3 separate regions of the Homo sapiens genome follow, and regions 1 and 3 are each linked to region 2. The links are contacts of gene promoters, found by promoter capture Hi-C in human tissues and cell types (Jung and others, 2019). All regions are on one chromosome and are shown on one strand. Each heading gives the region's core, a stretch centred on a gene start or on the middle of the fragment in contact. The rest is flanking DNA. Distances are from core to core; before and after follow the strand shown.

Region 1 (3,956 bases), core at 1,365-3,864, 190 kb after region 2:
CTTCCAGGCCACTAATGAGGGCACAAGATCCTAGAGACATTAGGTCCACATGAATAGCAGAACTGACTTTGAAGGAAGGAAGCGTTGTTTCCCAAGTTTCACAATGTGATTGTACGTGACTTCTGAAATTAAAAAGAGAGAATGAGGTTATTGTTTTAGTCAAAGTACGTTTCAGCTGCAAGTGAAAGAAAGATGTGTAAGTACCGTGGGGAACATAACGCTGGGATGGAGGGGTGTGCCATGGCACCCAACGCAAGTGCAGGGTGCTTAGTTTCACTGTAACAAAGTACCACAAACTTGGTGGCTTAAAACAATGGAGACTGATTCTCTTACGGTTCAGTGAGCCAGAAGCCTGACACCAAGGTGTCCGCACGGCTGCTTCCTTCTGAGGCTCTAGGGGAGGATCCTTTTCCGTGCCTTTCCAGCTTCAGCTTCCTCCTTGTAAAAACTCCTGGCCGGGCGCATTGCCTCACGCCTTTAATCCCAGCACTTTGGGAGGCCGAGGTGGGTGGATCACGAGGTCAGGAGATCGAGACCATCCTGGCCAACACGGTGAAACCCTGTCTCTATAAAAAACACAAACATTAGCTGGGTGCGTGTCTGTAATCCCAGCTACTTGGGAGGCTGAGGCAGGAGAATTGCTTGAACCCGGGAGGCAGAGGTTGCAGTGAGTCAAGATTGCACTATTGCACTCCAGCCTGGGCAACAAGAGCAAAACTCCGTCTCAAAATAAAAAGGAATTCTTGTGAGGCCAGGCACAGTGGTTCACGCCTGTAATCCCAGCACTTTGGGAGGCCGAGGCAGGTGGATCACTTGAGGTCAGAAGTTTGAGACCAGCCTGGCCAACATGGTGAAACCCCGTCTCTACCAAAAATACAACCAAAAGTAATCTGGCAGGATAAAACCAGAAAACACACACAATTTGATGTCAAGACCTATTTCAAAAGCTATAGTAGGCCAGGCGCAGTGGCTCATGCCTGTAATCCCAGCACTTTGGGAGGCCGAGGTGGGAAGATCACCTGAGGTCAGAAGTTCGACACCAGCCTGGCCAACATGGCGAAACCCTGTCTCTGCTAAAAATACAAAAATTAGCTAGGTGCGGTGGCTCATGCCTGTAATCCCAGCTACTCAGGAGACTGAGGCAGGAGAATCGCTTGAATCCGGGAGGCAGAACTTGCAGTGAGCTGAGATCACGCCACTGCACTCCAGCCTGGGCGACAGAGTGAGACTCCATCTAAAATAAATAAATAAAAATAAAAAGCTATATTAATTAAGATAATGTGGTACCTGTCAGAGAAGGACAAATCAACCAATGAAAAAGAATAGCATGTCTAGAAGGTTCCACACATTTGTGATCCCTGAGTCATGCTGTAGGGAATGGTTGGGCTTTTCTGTGAATAGTTTTGGATCATTTGGATACTTATCTATCTACGTATTGATTGATCGATCAATTCATCTGTTGATCCACAGGGTCTCATTATGTTGCCCAGGTTGGTCCTGAACCCCTGAGCTCCAATAGTTCTCCTGCTTTGACCTCCCAAAGTGCTGGGATTACAGGCATGAGCCACCCCACCGAGCCAACGGGATATCCAAATGGGGAACCATGAATCTTTTTTCTCACCATACCTCACACCCCTACCTCACAGCACACACAAAAATTAATTCCTGACAGACTATAGATCTAAATAGGAAAGGTAAAACAATAAAGCTCCTAAAAAATAACATAGGAGCCAGGCGCTGTGGCTCACGCCTGTAAACCCAGCACTTTGGGAGGCCAAGTTCCAGACTAGCCTGACCAACATGGAGAAACCCCATCTCTACTAAAAATACAAAATTAGCCGAGCTTGGTGGTGCATGCCTGTAATCCCGGCTACTCGGGAGGCTGAGGCAGGAGAATTGCTTGAACCCGCGAGGCAGAGGTTGTAGTGAGCCGAGATCGCGCCATTGCATTCCAGCCTGGGAAACAAGAGCGAAACTTTGTCTCAAAAAAAAAAAAAAAAAAAAAGACTTGATCCAGAACTCAAAGTTGGGTCTGAGTGTGGCTTTTCTGTCTCTCTTTCGTGATGTTGTCTCTCTCTCTTGGCAAGCTCATTCTTTTGGTGGAAAGAGAGCTACCACTCGTGCCAGGATGGTTTCCATTAATTCATGTAACATTTATTGAGTGCCAATTACATGGCAGGCTCTATTCTAGACTCTGGGGACAGAGCCTAGACTGTTTCAGGTCTGAAGAGCCTTTGCCTCGGAGCTCACGTTCTGACGGAAGGAGGTAGACCACGATGCATCAACACAGAAAGTCTGGGGTGGTAAGTCACAGGGAGAGGACATGGCTGGGTGGGGAGGTCTCTTCTACAGGGGCCATTTGGGCAGAGACCAAAGGAGGAGTGAACCACATGGCTACCCGAGGGCAGAGAATTCCAGGCAGAGGCTGGAGGCAGGAGCGCCCTTCTGGTGTTCAAGGTGCAGCCCGAGGGTGAGGCAGCCAAGTGCAGGGGTGAGGAGAGAGGCATGGGAGGCAAGGGTGGGTACTGGGGCCCGATAGGCTGGGTGGAGACTTTGGAGCTGCTGCTGGGTTCTGAGCAAAGGGCATTTTCGAGTGGAAAGGCTCAGTTTGGCTGTGCTGCCAAAGAGTTTTCCAAAGTGGTCGTTCCTGTCCTTGCCAGCAGGTCATTGTGTGCTTTCTGGAGGGTGTGCCCAGGTGTCTCCTGTGGATTTAATTTGCACTTCCCTAATGATTAATGATGTGGAGCACTTTGTGCAGATTCATTGGCCATCTGCATATCCTCTTTCACCAGACACCTACTTGAGCCATTTGCCCATTTTTCTCTTGGGCTGTCTGTGGTTTTCTTAGTGATTTTTAGGAGTTCTTTATATATTCCAATTATAAGGCCTTTGTCCATTTTACAAATCTCTTCTCCCACTCTGGGGCTGCCTTTCACCCTCTTTTTTTTTGTTATTTTTTGTTTTGTTTTGTTTTTGAGATGGAGTCTTGCTTTGTCACCCAGGCTGGAGTGCAGTGGTGTGATCTCAGCTCACTGCAGCCTCAACCTTCCCCAGCTCAGGTGATCCTTCTACCTCAGCCTCCCCAGCAGCTGGGACTACAGGTGCACCACCACCACGCTGGGCTAGTTTTTGTATTTTTTGTAGAGACGGGGTCTCCCTATGTTGCCCAGGCTGGTCTTGAACTCCTGGGCTCAAGAGATTTTCCCACCTTGGTCTCCCAAAGGGCTGGCATTACAGGCGTGAGCCACCGCGCCCAGCCTCCAAGTCATCTTTCACACGCAGAGCACGCCTGAGAGCAGCAACAAGACTAACGTTGGGGCCAAAGCTAAGAAGTGGGGCGGAGCCTCCCTGGTGGCCGGTCGTCAGCCCAGTGCCTGAAATGCATGCAAAGTCTATTTTTATTTTGCGTAGTTGAACCTAAGCAAAAAATCTGGCCCTACAATCTCTAACCTTGCTCCTAACTGGCACCTACCCTATTGCACAAGAAGCTATCTAGGGGAGGACTCAGTGAGCACTCGGTGAGTTTGCCCAGCCATGGTGGTACTGTCTCCTTCCCTCTGCAGGCACAGCGGGAAGAATAGGGCGGATGGAGGGCTCTCTGCACCTTCCACAGCCAGCAGCGTGGACGGCAGATTACAAGTTAGTATCTGTGTGACCTCCGCACTCCCCTGCCGGTGGCTGCCTGGGCTGCTGAGATTTCGCTTGGTTTTATCACTGCAGAGGAATGCCCGCCATACCGGGGGGCGAGCAAGGTCCAGAATGACAAGCCGTGGCATTCCTCAGCCGCCTCCTCCCCGGGGTGGGGCCTGGACATTCCTGGCTGCAGCTAGAGGTCCCAGCATGACAGGGATTCTGACCCCCCCTCCACCACGGCTATTGTTCAGGATTCTGTGGATTCCAGAGGCATCTGCCCAGCAGACTGTCTTGCTGTGAACACCCAGCTCTGCAACCGGTGT
Region 2 (3,703 bases), core at 377-2,876:
CCGAGGATCCCTGCGCCTCCTCCCGGAGCCCAGGCCGTCACAGCGACACTTAAGCAGGAAATCCCTCCCCTGGAGCCCAGCAGCCGCTGCCGCCGCCGCCGCCTCCTCCCACGCGAAGCTTCCGTCAACCCCAAGGCCCACCTCCTCGACAAAGGACCACCCCTTGCTCCCTGGTAACCGGGAGAGGCTTCCTCCCTCCGCCCTGGGAGTGGCTCCCCTTCCCCAGCCTCAGCAGCCGCCTCCCTCCCCGCCAGCCACGGCCAGGCCACCTCCGTCGCGTCCCTCCCTCCCCACGGCCTAGCGGGCGGCCGAGGCCCCGTGCACACCGGGAGAAGCTCTTGCCACAGTGGGAGCAGTTGTAGGGCTTGTGCACAGCGCCGTCATGTGAGCGCACGTGGTAGCTCATGCGGTCCTTGCGCTTGAAGCGCTGCTGGCACACCGGGCACTGGTAGGGCTTCTCGTCCGAGTGCGACAGCTTGTGTCGGTTCAGGTGGTAGACGTCGCGGAAGGCCTTGCCACACATCTCGCAGGCATGGTTCTTCCGGATGCGCTTCCCCGAGGCGGTCGTGGTCACCACGCCACCGGCGGCCACTGCGGCAGCGCCGCCGCCGGCACCCGCCTCTCCCCCTCCCCCGCCGGCTCCGCTCAGCTGGGGCACGCTCAGGAGGCTCAGGGGCACCATGGTCGGCATCTTCATAGCACCCGAGGGGACCCGGCCGGCCTTGGCTCCCGTGTGGATGGCTTCGTGCCTCCGGAGATTGTAGCCGTTCTTGAACTCCTTGGCGCACAGAGCGCAGATGTAGGGCCCCTTGCTCTTTGTCTTCTTCTCCAAGGCAGACGCGACCGGGGCCACGGCGACCGTCGAGGTTGGGGCTACGACGGCGGTGGCCGCCGCCGCGGCGATAGTGGCGGCGGAGGCGGGGGGCGCGGCCTCGGCCGCGGGCGCCGACACTGGCGGGGGTGGCGGAGGGGGCGCCGGAGGCTGCTTCAGGGCCGCTGTGTCCACCGTAGAGGCGGCGGCAGGGGCCGGGGGCGCGGCAGCGACGGCGGCAGCAGCGGCGGCAGCGGCCGCAGCAGCCGCGGCGGACTCCTGGGCGGCGGCGAGCACCGGGAGCAAGTCCACCTGGAGGGGCTCGGCCGCCGGGGCCTGGGGCGTGGGCGGGGGCGCCGGCGCGGCCTGCGGAGACAAGGCGCCGAGTGGGCCGCGGGTGCGGGCGGGCGTCCCCCCCCAGCCCGGGCCGCCGCGGCCGGCCCTACTCACCTGGAATGGACTCTGGGCGCAGCCCTGGGAGGCAAAGAAGCGGGACTGGAGCTCAGCCCCGACCTGCAGGGGGTTCTGGGCGTGACCCTGAGGTGGCGGGAAGGAGTTCATGAGGCCGCCCACCCCCCGGGAGTCCAGGCCCAGCACGGGGAAGGGGGGGGCCAGCAGCGTGCAAGGAAACACCGGGAACATGGCCTCGGCCGCAGCGGGGCCCCCGGGGCTCAGCGGGGGCCGGGGGCGCGGGCCGCGCGGGGCCCGGGCTCGGGGCGCCGCCCCCGGCCGGCCGGGCTGGGCCGCGCCGAACGCATGGCCCGCGGGCCGCCCCGCCGCCCGCGCACCCCGGCCGGCGGGAGGGAGGAAAAGAGGGCGCCTTGCGGGCCGCGGAGCGCCGCGGCGACGGCGGCGGCGACGCCCCCTGGGTGGGGGCGGGAGGCCCCGCGGGGCCGGGGCCGGGGGCGGGGGCCCGGGCGGCGGCGGCGGCGGCGGCGGCGGTTGGAGCCTGGCGGGGCGGGGTGGGGGGAGCGAGGGAGCAGCCTCGGCCCCCGCCGCGCGCGCGCCCAGCCGGCGCCTCGGGGAGGGCGGGGGAGGGCGCGAGGGAGGGAGGGGGACAGCTGCGCGCGCACCGGGCGCGCGGAGGGGGGGTGGGACGGGAGGGAGGGCGGGCAGGAGGGGGTGTGGGCAGGGGGGTGGGGGCGGGGGGAGGGAGTTGTTACCTGGAAGATGAAGCTGCTCCAGTTGCTGGGATCCATGGCGGAGGGAGGGAGGGAGGTGGCTCGCGCTCACCCTGGGGCGGGAGGAGGAGGCGGCGGCGGTGGGGGAGGGGGAACCCGGGAGGAGGCGCGCGGGGCGGGCAGGAGGGGGGAGGTGGAGGGTGGGGGAAGCGGAGCACACTACGCGCGGGGAGGGCGGGCGGGGGGCGCGAGGACACACAAGAGGCTGGAGCGGGCGCGAGCGCTAGCGCGAGCGCGCGCGTGGCCAGCGGGAGGGGCAGGCGCGAGAGGGACTCTGGCGGGAGGAGGGACGGGGGAGCCACCCAGCAGCCCGAGTCGCCCCGAGCGCGAGACCCCTGAGACGGCTGCTGATTGGCTGACGATGGCGCAGGTGGTGGGCGCGCGGGAGACAGGGCGGCTTCTCTCCTCTTCCCCCCGCCAACGATTCCACTCCCCCTCCCTCCGCCAGCGGCCGTTATTTCGCGCGCACGCGCACAAGGCCGCCGTCGTTGCCGAGCGGGAGAATGGGGGAGCGCGCGCGCCGGGGGCACGGACGGGGCGGGGCTAATCCCTGAGCGCGCGCCCGCCTAACGGTCGCAGGCCTCATGCTTCGGCTTCCGCTTTTTGCGTCCTGCAGGCCACCGTCCTCCCCGCCCCACCCCAGCGGTGTATTTACAATCCTGCGCTGAGTCGTTCCCCGAAGATGGCGCCCAGTGGAGTCGCCTGCCTTGCTCGCGGCCCACCCCGAGGCGGTCACACCCCGGTCCCGCCCCCGCAGCCCCAAAAATCAGGCGGAAGCACCGGAGCAAAAACTGTATTTACACAACACGGGGTTATACAAAAATTTGAAAAGGCGGAGTGAGGAGACGACGGTCAGGAGGCGCCACAGCGCTGGCCGGCGGCGAGACCCAGGATGTTTGCCTGCAACACAGGAGGGAGGGAGACAGCGACGTTAGAGAGGGGCGCGGGGCGCAGGACAGGCAGAGGAGGGGCAGGGCCGTGACTTCACCTTCAGGAAGGACTCCATCTGTTTCCCCGTTATGCCCTCCACGCGTTCCAGGTCCTCCACCTGGCGGGACAGGATCGATAGGGGACAGGGTCTCGGGGGTACCCGGTCTCCCCCGCCCCCGCCCTCCCCCAGTCCAGTGGGCTGCTACCTGGCTGAAGGGGCCGTGGAGCTCCCGCCAGCCCACGATTAGCTGGGCCTTCTTCGGGCCAATGCGCTGAAGACTGCGGAGATCTCGGGCTGAGCCTTCGTTCAGCAGATCCAGTATTTTTTGGCGCCCATGAGCCAGTAGCTCCGGGCTGATCTGTAGCTCCCAGCAGTCCTCAGCCTTCTCCTCAGGCTCTAGGGCATCCAGGGACTCCAGCTGGGAGGCAAAGGGAGATGAGTGACACGCAGGGCAGCCAAGTGCTTTGGGCTCCTCTGCCAAGACTAGGAGCCCAGCACCAGCTACCTCCTGCGCTCCAGCCTCTTCCTCTCTTGTCAAGTGTGTCCAAAATCCCGCCCTCAGGTCACTCTCTGGGTTAATTCTTATTATGCAACTAGTGAAAGAGAGGTACTACTCAGTACCCAGTGGTAATATTAGCACCCTTCTCATGGAGTTGCTGTGGAGATCAAGTGAGTTAATGAATGTAAAGCACAAAATAAGCTCTTAAATCTGGTCCCTCATCTCTAAAAGGGAAAGAATAAGCTGTCTTTCAAAAAGTACATGGGAGAAAGTAATATGAA
Region 3 (3,839 bases), core at 1,181-3,680, 190 kb before region 2:
TTCCGGGGCAGGCGGGGCCGTTTCTCCCGCTTGGGCCTCAGGGGACTGGGCTCGGGCAGCTGCAGGGCCAGGTAGTCAGAAGGGAATGGGGGGTAGCGGGAGGAGGCCAGCTGCGGGCGGGAGCGGGGATGGAGATGGGAGGCGGAATGGACCGGGGTGAGGGTGGGGGAAGAAATGCAAACAGAAGGAGGATGGAAAAACAAAAGAGATGGTGATGAGTGCGGCTCCCGGGGCTCCCGAGCACAGAAGGGCCGGGCAGCAGCAGGATGCTGTCCTGGGCTTTGCTCTCCTCAGTCAGGCCTGGCCCCGTTCCTATACCAGAGAGAAGGGGGCAGCCCCGACTCACACCCTCCACGGGACACTTGGGCCACACCCAGACAGATGTCCCCAAAGTTGGGCTGGCCTTGCCCCGAGGCCCAGCCCTTCTGCCCAAATGACGCCCACCTTACTCCCAAGCACTTCCCATCCCTGACCCCAACTCACCGAGCTCAGGTATGGGGAGGGGACCCCGGAGGCCTGAAGGGGAAACCCTGTTGAAGGAGGCAGGGAGAGGCTGGAGGGAGAGGGGGCGCCCCCCAGCGGAGGGCTTCTCTTCCTGGAGAAAGGACAGGGCGAGGTCAGATGTGGCTAGGAGCCCAGGCGCCCCACCTGACCCTCCCCAGCGAGAGGAATGCATCTTCTTCTCACCTCTTAGGGGCCGGTGTGTCAGACAACTTGGGTGTCCCCTCCGTCTCGCTGTTATCTGATGATGCAGTGGCATCTGAGTCTGTGATGGGGACAGCTGGTCAGTGGGGATGGGGGGATCCCAGTCCATCCCAGAAAGGTATAACCTCCTCTACACTACAGAAGGGCACTGGAAGACCAGGTGCGGGGGCTCACGCCTGGAATCCCAGCACTGTGAGAGGCTGAGGTGGCCAGATCGCTTGAGGCCAGGAGTTCAAGAGCAGCCTGGACAACCTAGCAAGACCTCATCTCTATTAAAAACAAAAACAATTATCCGAGCATGGTGGCGTGTGCTTGTAGTCCCAGCTACTCAGGAGGCTGAGGCAGGAGAACTACTCGGAGATTGAGACTGCAGTGAGCTGTGATTTTAACACTGCACGCCAGCCTGGGTGACAGAGCAAGACCCTGCCTCAAAAAAATGAAACAAACCAAAACCTAACAGAAGGGCCCCGGGGGAATCTGACTCACCAGCTGGTGGGCACACGCATGCACCACACACTCGAGCTGTCCCAGGGAGGCCCATAGCCTCTCCAGCCTCCCCAGCCCCCCGCCCGCTCTGGTTCCTCCGTAACACACCTGCCACGCATGGCCAGGGTGCCAGGCTCTTTCCCACTCACCACCTCTCCTTGTCATCAGATCCAAGGAAGGATGGGAAGGGCAGCACCTCCACTTGTCACATGAGGTCACCGAGGCTCAGAAAGTAAGGTGTGAGGCTAAGACTCCAAGCCAGGTCTGTGACTCCTTGGCTGTTTGATGCCACTGGTTCCTTGCCTCTGAGCTGAGCAGTCTTCAACTCCTGCCTCTGCCCCACTCCCCATAACCAGGGTCCTGTTCATCTACCCCTGAAGTCCTCCCCTTCATCCACTGCTCCCCACACCAACTAACACAGGTCAGGCCACCAGCACGTCAAAATCACCTGCTAAGCAGTCTCACCTCACCGTGCCACCCACTGTCCACCCCCAACCCCAGAGTGACCTAAAACAAACCTGGTCACATCCTTCCTGATGACATCACCCACTACCTGCATGAATTCATGGTGCTGCTTAATCTGGCTTCAATGTACCTTTCTGGTCAACTAACGTAACTGTATTCTTTAAAGCACACTGACCTATTTCGTCAAAAAAGAAATGTATTTCCTAGTTCAGTGCCTCTGCCTAGAAGGGCCATCTTTCATCGAACAAACGACTGCTACACCTATAGAAGCCGTTACCAATGTCTCTGCTCAGACAGACCCTTTAAGAAGCAGATTAAATGCCACCTCCTCTGTGAAGTCTTCCAGAATCCCTCAAGCCCAGTTAACTGCAGGCTCTCCTGGAACGCTCTACTCTCGTCATGGCTGCCCTCACACTGTGCTGAAAAGCGTCGTTTGCGAGTGTCTCCCTGGCCAGGGCGTGGGCCTCCAGGACGGGAGTGGGGCTCGCATCGCTGGCTCTTCCTCCTCAGATGCAACCCACTCTGGCCATGAACATGCTGGGTTCTCTCCCACCTCCTGCCCTGAATTCCCCTCAAACAGGATGTTAACTGGAAGCCCCTAGGGAAGGAAGAGGCAGGGGATGAGAGGCTACAATAAAAGCCAAATCTCCTACTATGACCTACCTGAGTGGGCCCCTGCCTATTTCCCCAACCTTATCTACAATCCTCCTATAATAACAAGCAAATGGGTATCATGCGTTCTGACAAAACACTACGTCCTAAAACGTGGCTGGCTGCCACATGCCAATCCCTGCCTCAGACCAATGTGCTTTTTTTTTTTTTTGAGACGGAGTCTTGCTCTGTTGCCCAGGCTGGAGTGCAGTGGCGTAATCTCGGCTCACTGCAAGCTCCGCCTCCCGGGTTCACACCATTCTTCTGCCTCAGCCTCCTGAGTAGCTGGGACTACAGGCGCCCGCCACCACACCCAGCTAATTTTATGTATTTTTAGTAGAGACGGGGTTTCACCATGTTAGCCAGGACGGTCTCGATCTCCTGACCTCGTGATCTGCCTGCCTCGGCCTCCCAAAGTGCTGGGATTACAAGCGTGAGCCACCGTGCCCGGCCCAGACCAATGTTTAAAGGCACCACGGAGAGAGGTGATTCTACGTGACATGGCTTACGAGGGCCTCACCCAGGAAGAGGCCCACAAATGCCTACCTTAGGGCTTTTTCAAACTGTGGGTCTCAAGCCATTAGTGGGTCATGAAATCAATTTATTGGTTTGCAACCAGCATTAAAAGAAGGGGAAAAAAGCAGTCTAAAAAGTGTCAGGATGAATTGGATACAGTGATCTTAAAAATGTTTCGTTAAACTTTGTTTTGTTTAACATGTGGGGCCCTGGTTATGATGTAAAATATAGTTAACTGCAGACAATATTCAAATAAAAGGACGAAAACAGTGTTCTCTCTCTTTCATGCCTCTGCTCTTCAACCAAGCCTGACCTGTTCTTACCTCAGGGTAGCTGCATTTATATTATTCTGCCGGGACAGCTCTAGCCCACTTCTTCACAAGATTGGTTTTTGTTTTTTTTTTTTTTTTGAGATGGAGTCTGGCTCTGTTGCCCAGGCTGGACTGCAGTAGTGCAATCTCAGCTCACTGCAAGCTCCACCTCCCAGGTTCACGCCATTCTTCTGCCTCAGCCTCCCGAGTAACTGGGACTACAGGTGCCCACCAACATCCCCGGCTAACTTTTTGTATTTTTAGTAGAGACAGGGTTTCACTGTGTTAGCCAGGATGGGGTTTCTTTCTTTTGAGACAGTCTTGCTCTGTCACCCAGGCTGGAGCACAGCGGTGCTATCATGGCTCACTGCAGCCTTGACCTTTCAGGCAAGGGATCCTCCTGGTTCTGCCTCCCAAGTAGCTGGGACCACATGTATACACCACTATACATGGCTAATTTTTTTTTAATTGAGATGGGGTCTCACTATGTTGCCCAGGATGGAAGGCTGGTTTCTTCTCTGGTCCCAACTCAAATGTCACTCTGTGAAAGGCCTTTCTTGAGTACTCCATTCAGAGGTTGCCTGCTGCCTGCTTGTGTGGTCTGCAAGCTAAGAAGGGCGTTTTTTTTTTTTTTTGAGACGGAGTCTCGCCCTGTCACCCAGGCTGGAATGCAGTGGCAGCGATCTCGGCTCACTGCAACCTCTG

Evidence for each region. The method cuts DNA at HindIII sites, captures the fragments that hold promoters and counts their contacts. A contact is called where the count stands out against the background at its distance.
Region 1: a fragment that was not itself captured here is called in contact with the fragment with the promoter of MAZ in region 2 in 1 of the 25 tissues and cell types used here (dorsolateral prefrontal cortex).
Region 3: a contact is called between a fragment that was not itself captured here and the fragment with the promoter of MAZ in region 2, in 1 of the 25 tissues and cell types used here (dorsolateral prefrontal cortex).

What each region holds. Positions count from the first base shown.
Region 1 is chr16:29,614,863-29,618,818 of GRCh38, reverse strand. It overlaps the pseudogene CA5AP1. Among named protein-coding and RNA genes, the nearest start is that of MIR3680-2, 18 kb to the right of the region's middle. RefSeq lists an enhancer at 3,364-3,956. The HindIII fragment of the contact is 8,893 bases long and covers 1-3,956 here.
Region 2 is chr16:29,804,452-29,808,154 of GRCh38, reverse strand. It overlaps MAZ (MYC associated zinc finger protein), which reads right to left and starts at 1,626. Exons shown (of 5, transcript NM_002383.4): 1 at 1,262-1,626; 2 at 327-1,177. The coding sequence starts at 1,453. It overlaps KIF22 (kinesin family member 22), which reads right to left. Exons shown (of 14, transcript NM_007317.3): 12 at 3,129-3,341; 13 at 2,981-3,040; 14 at 2,771-2,892. The coding sequence ends at 2,845. RefSeq lists enhancers at 1-75, 2,646-2,695 and silencers at 156-825, 1,726-1,865, 1,996-2,335, 3,076-3,125. The HindIII fragment of the contact is 10,316 bases long and covers 1-3,703 here.
Region 3 is chr16:29,997,685-30,001,523 of GRCh38, reverse strand. INO80E (INO80 complex subunit E) reads right to left here. Exons shown (of 7, transcript NM_173618.3): 4 at 688-766; 5 at 484-595; 6 at 1-110. Among named protein-coding and RNA genes, the nearest start is that of INO80E, 3.4 kb to the right of the region's middle. The HindIII fragment of the contact is 4,005 bases long and covers 428-3,839 here.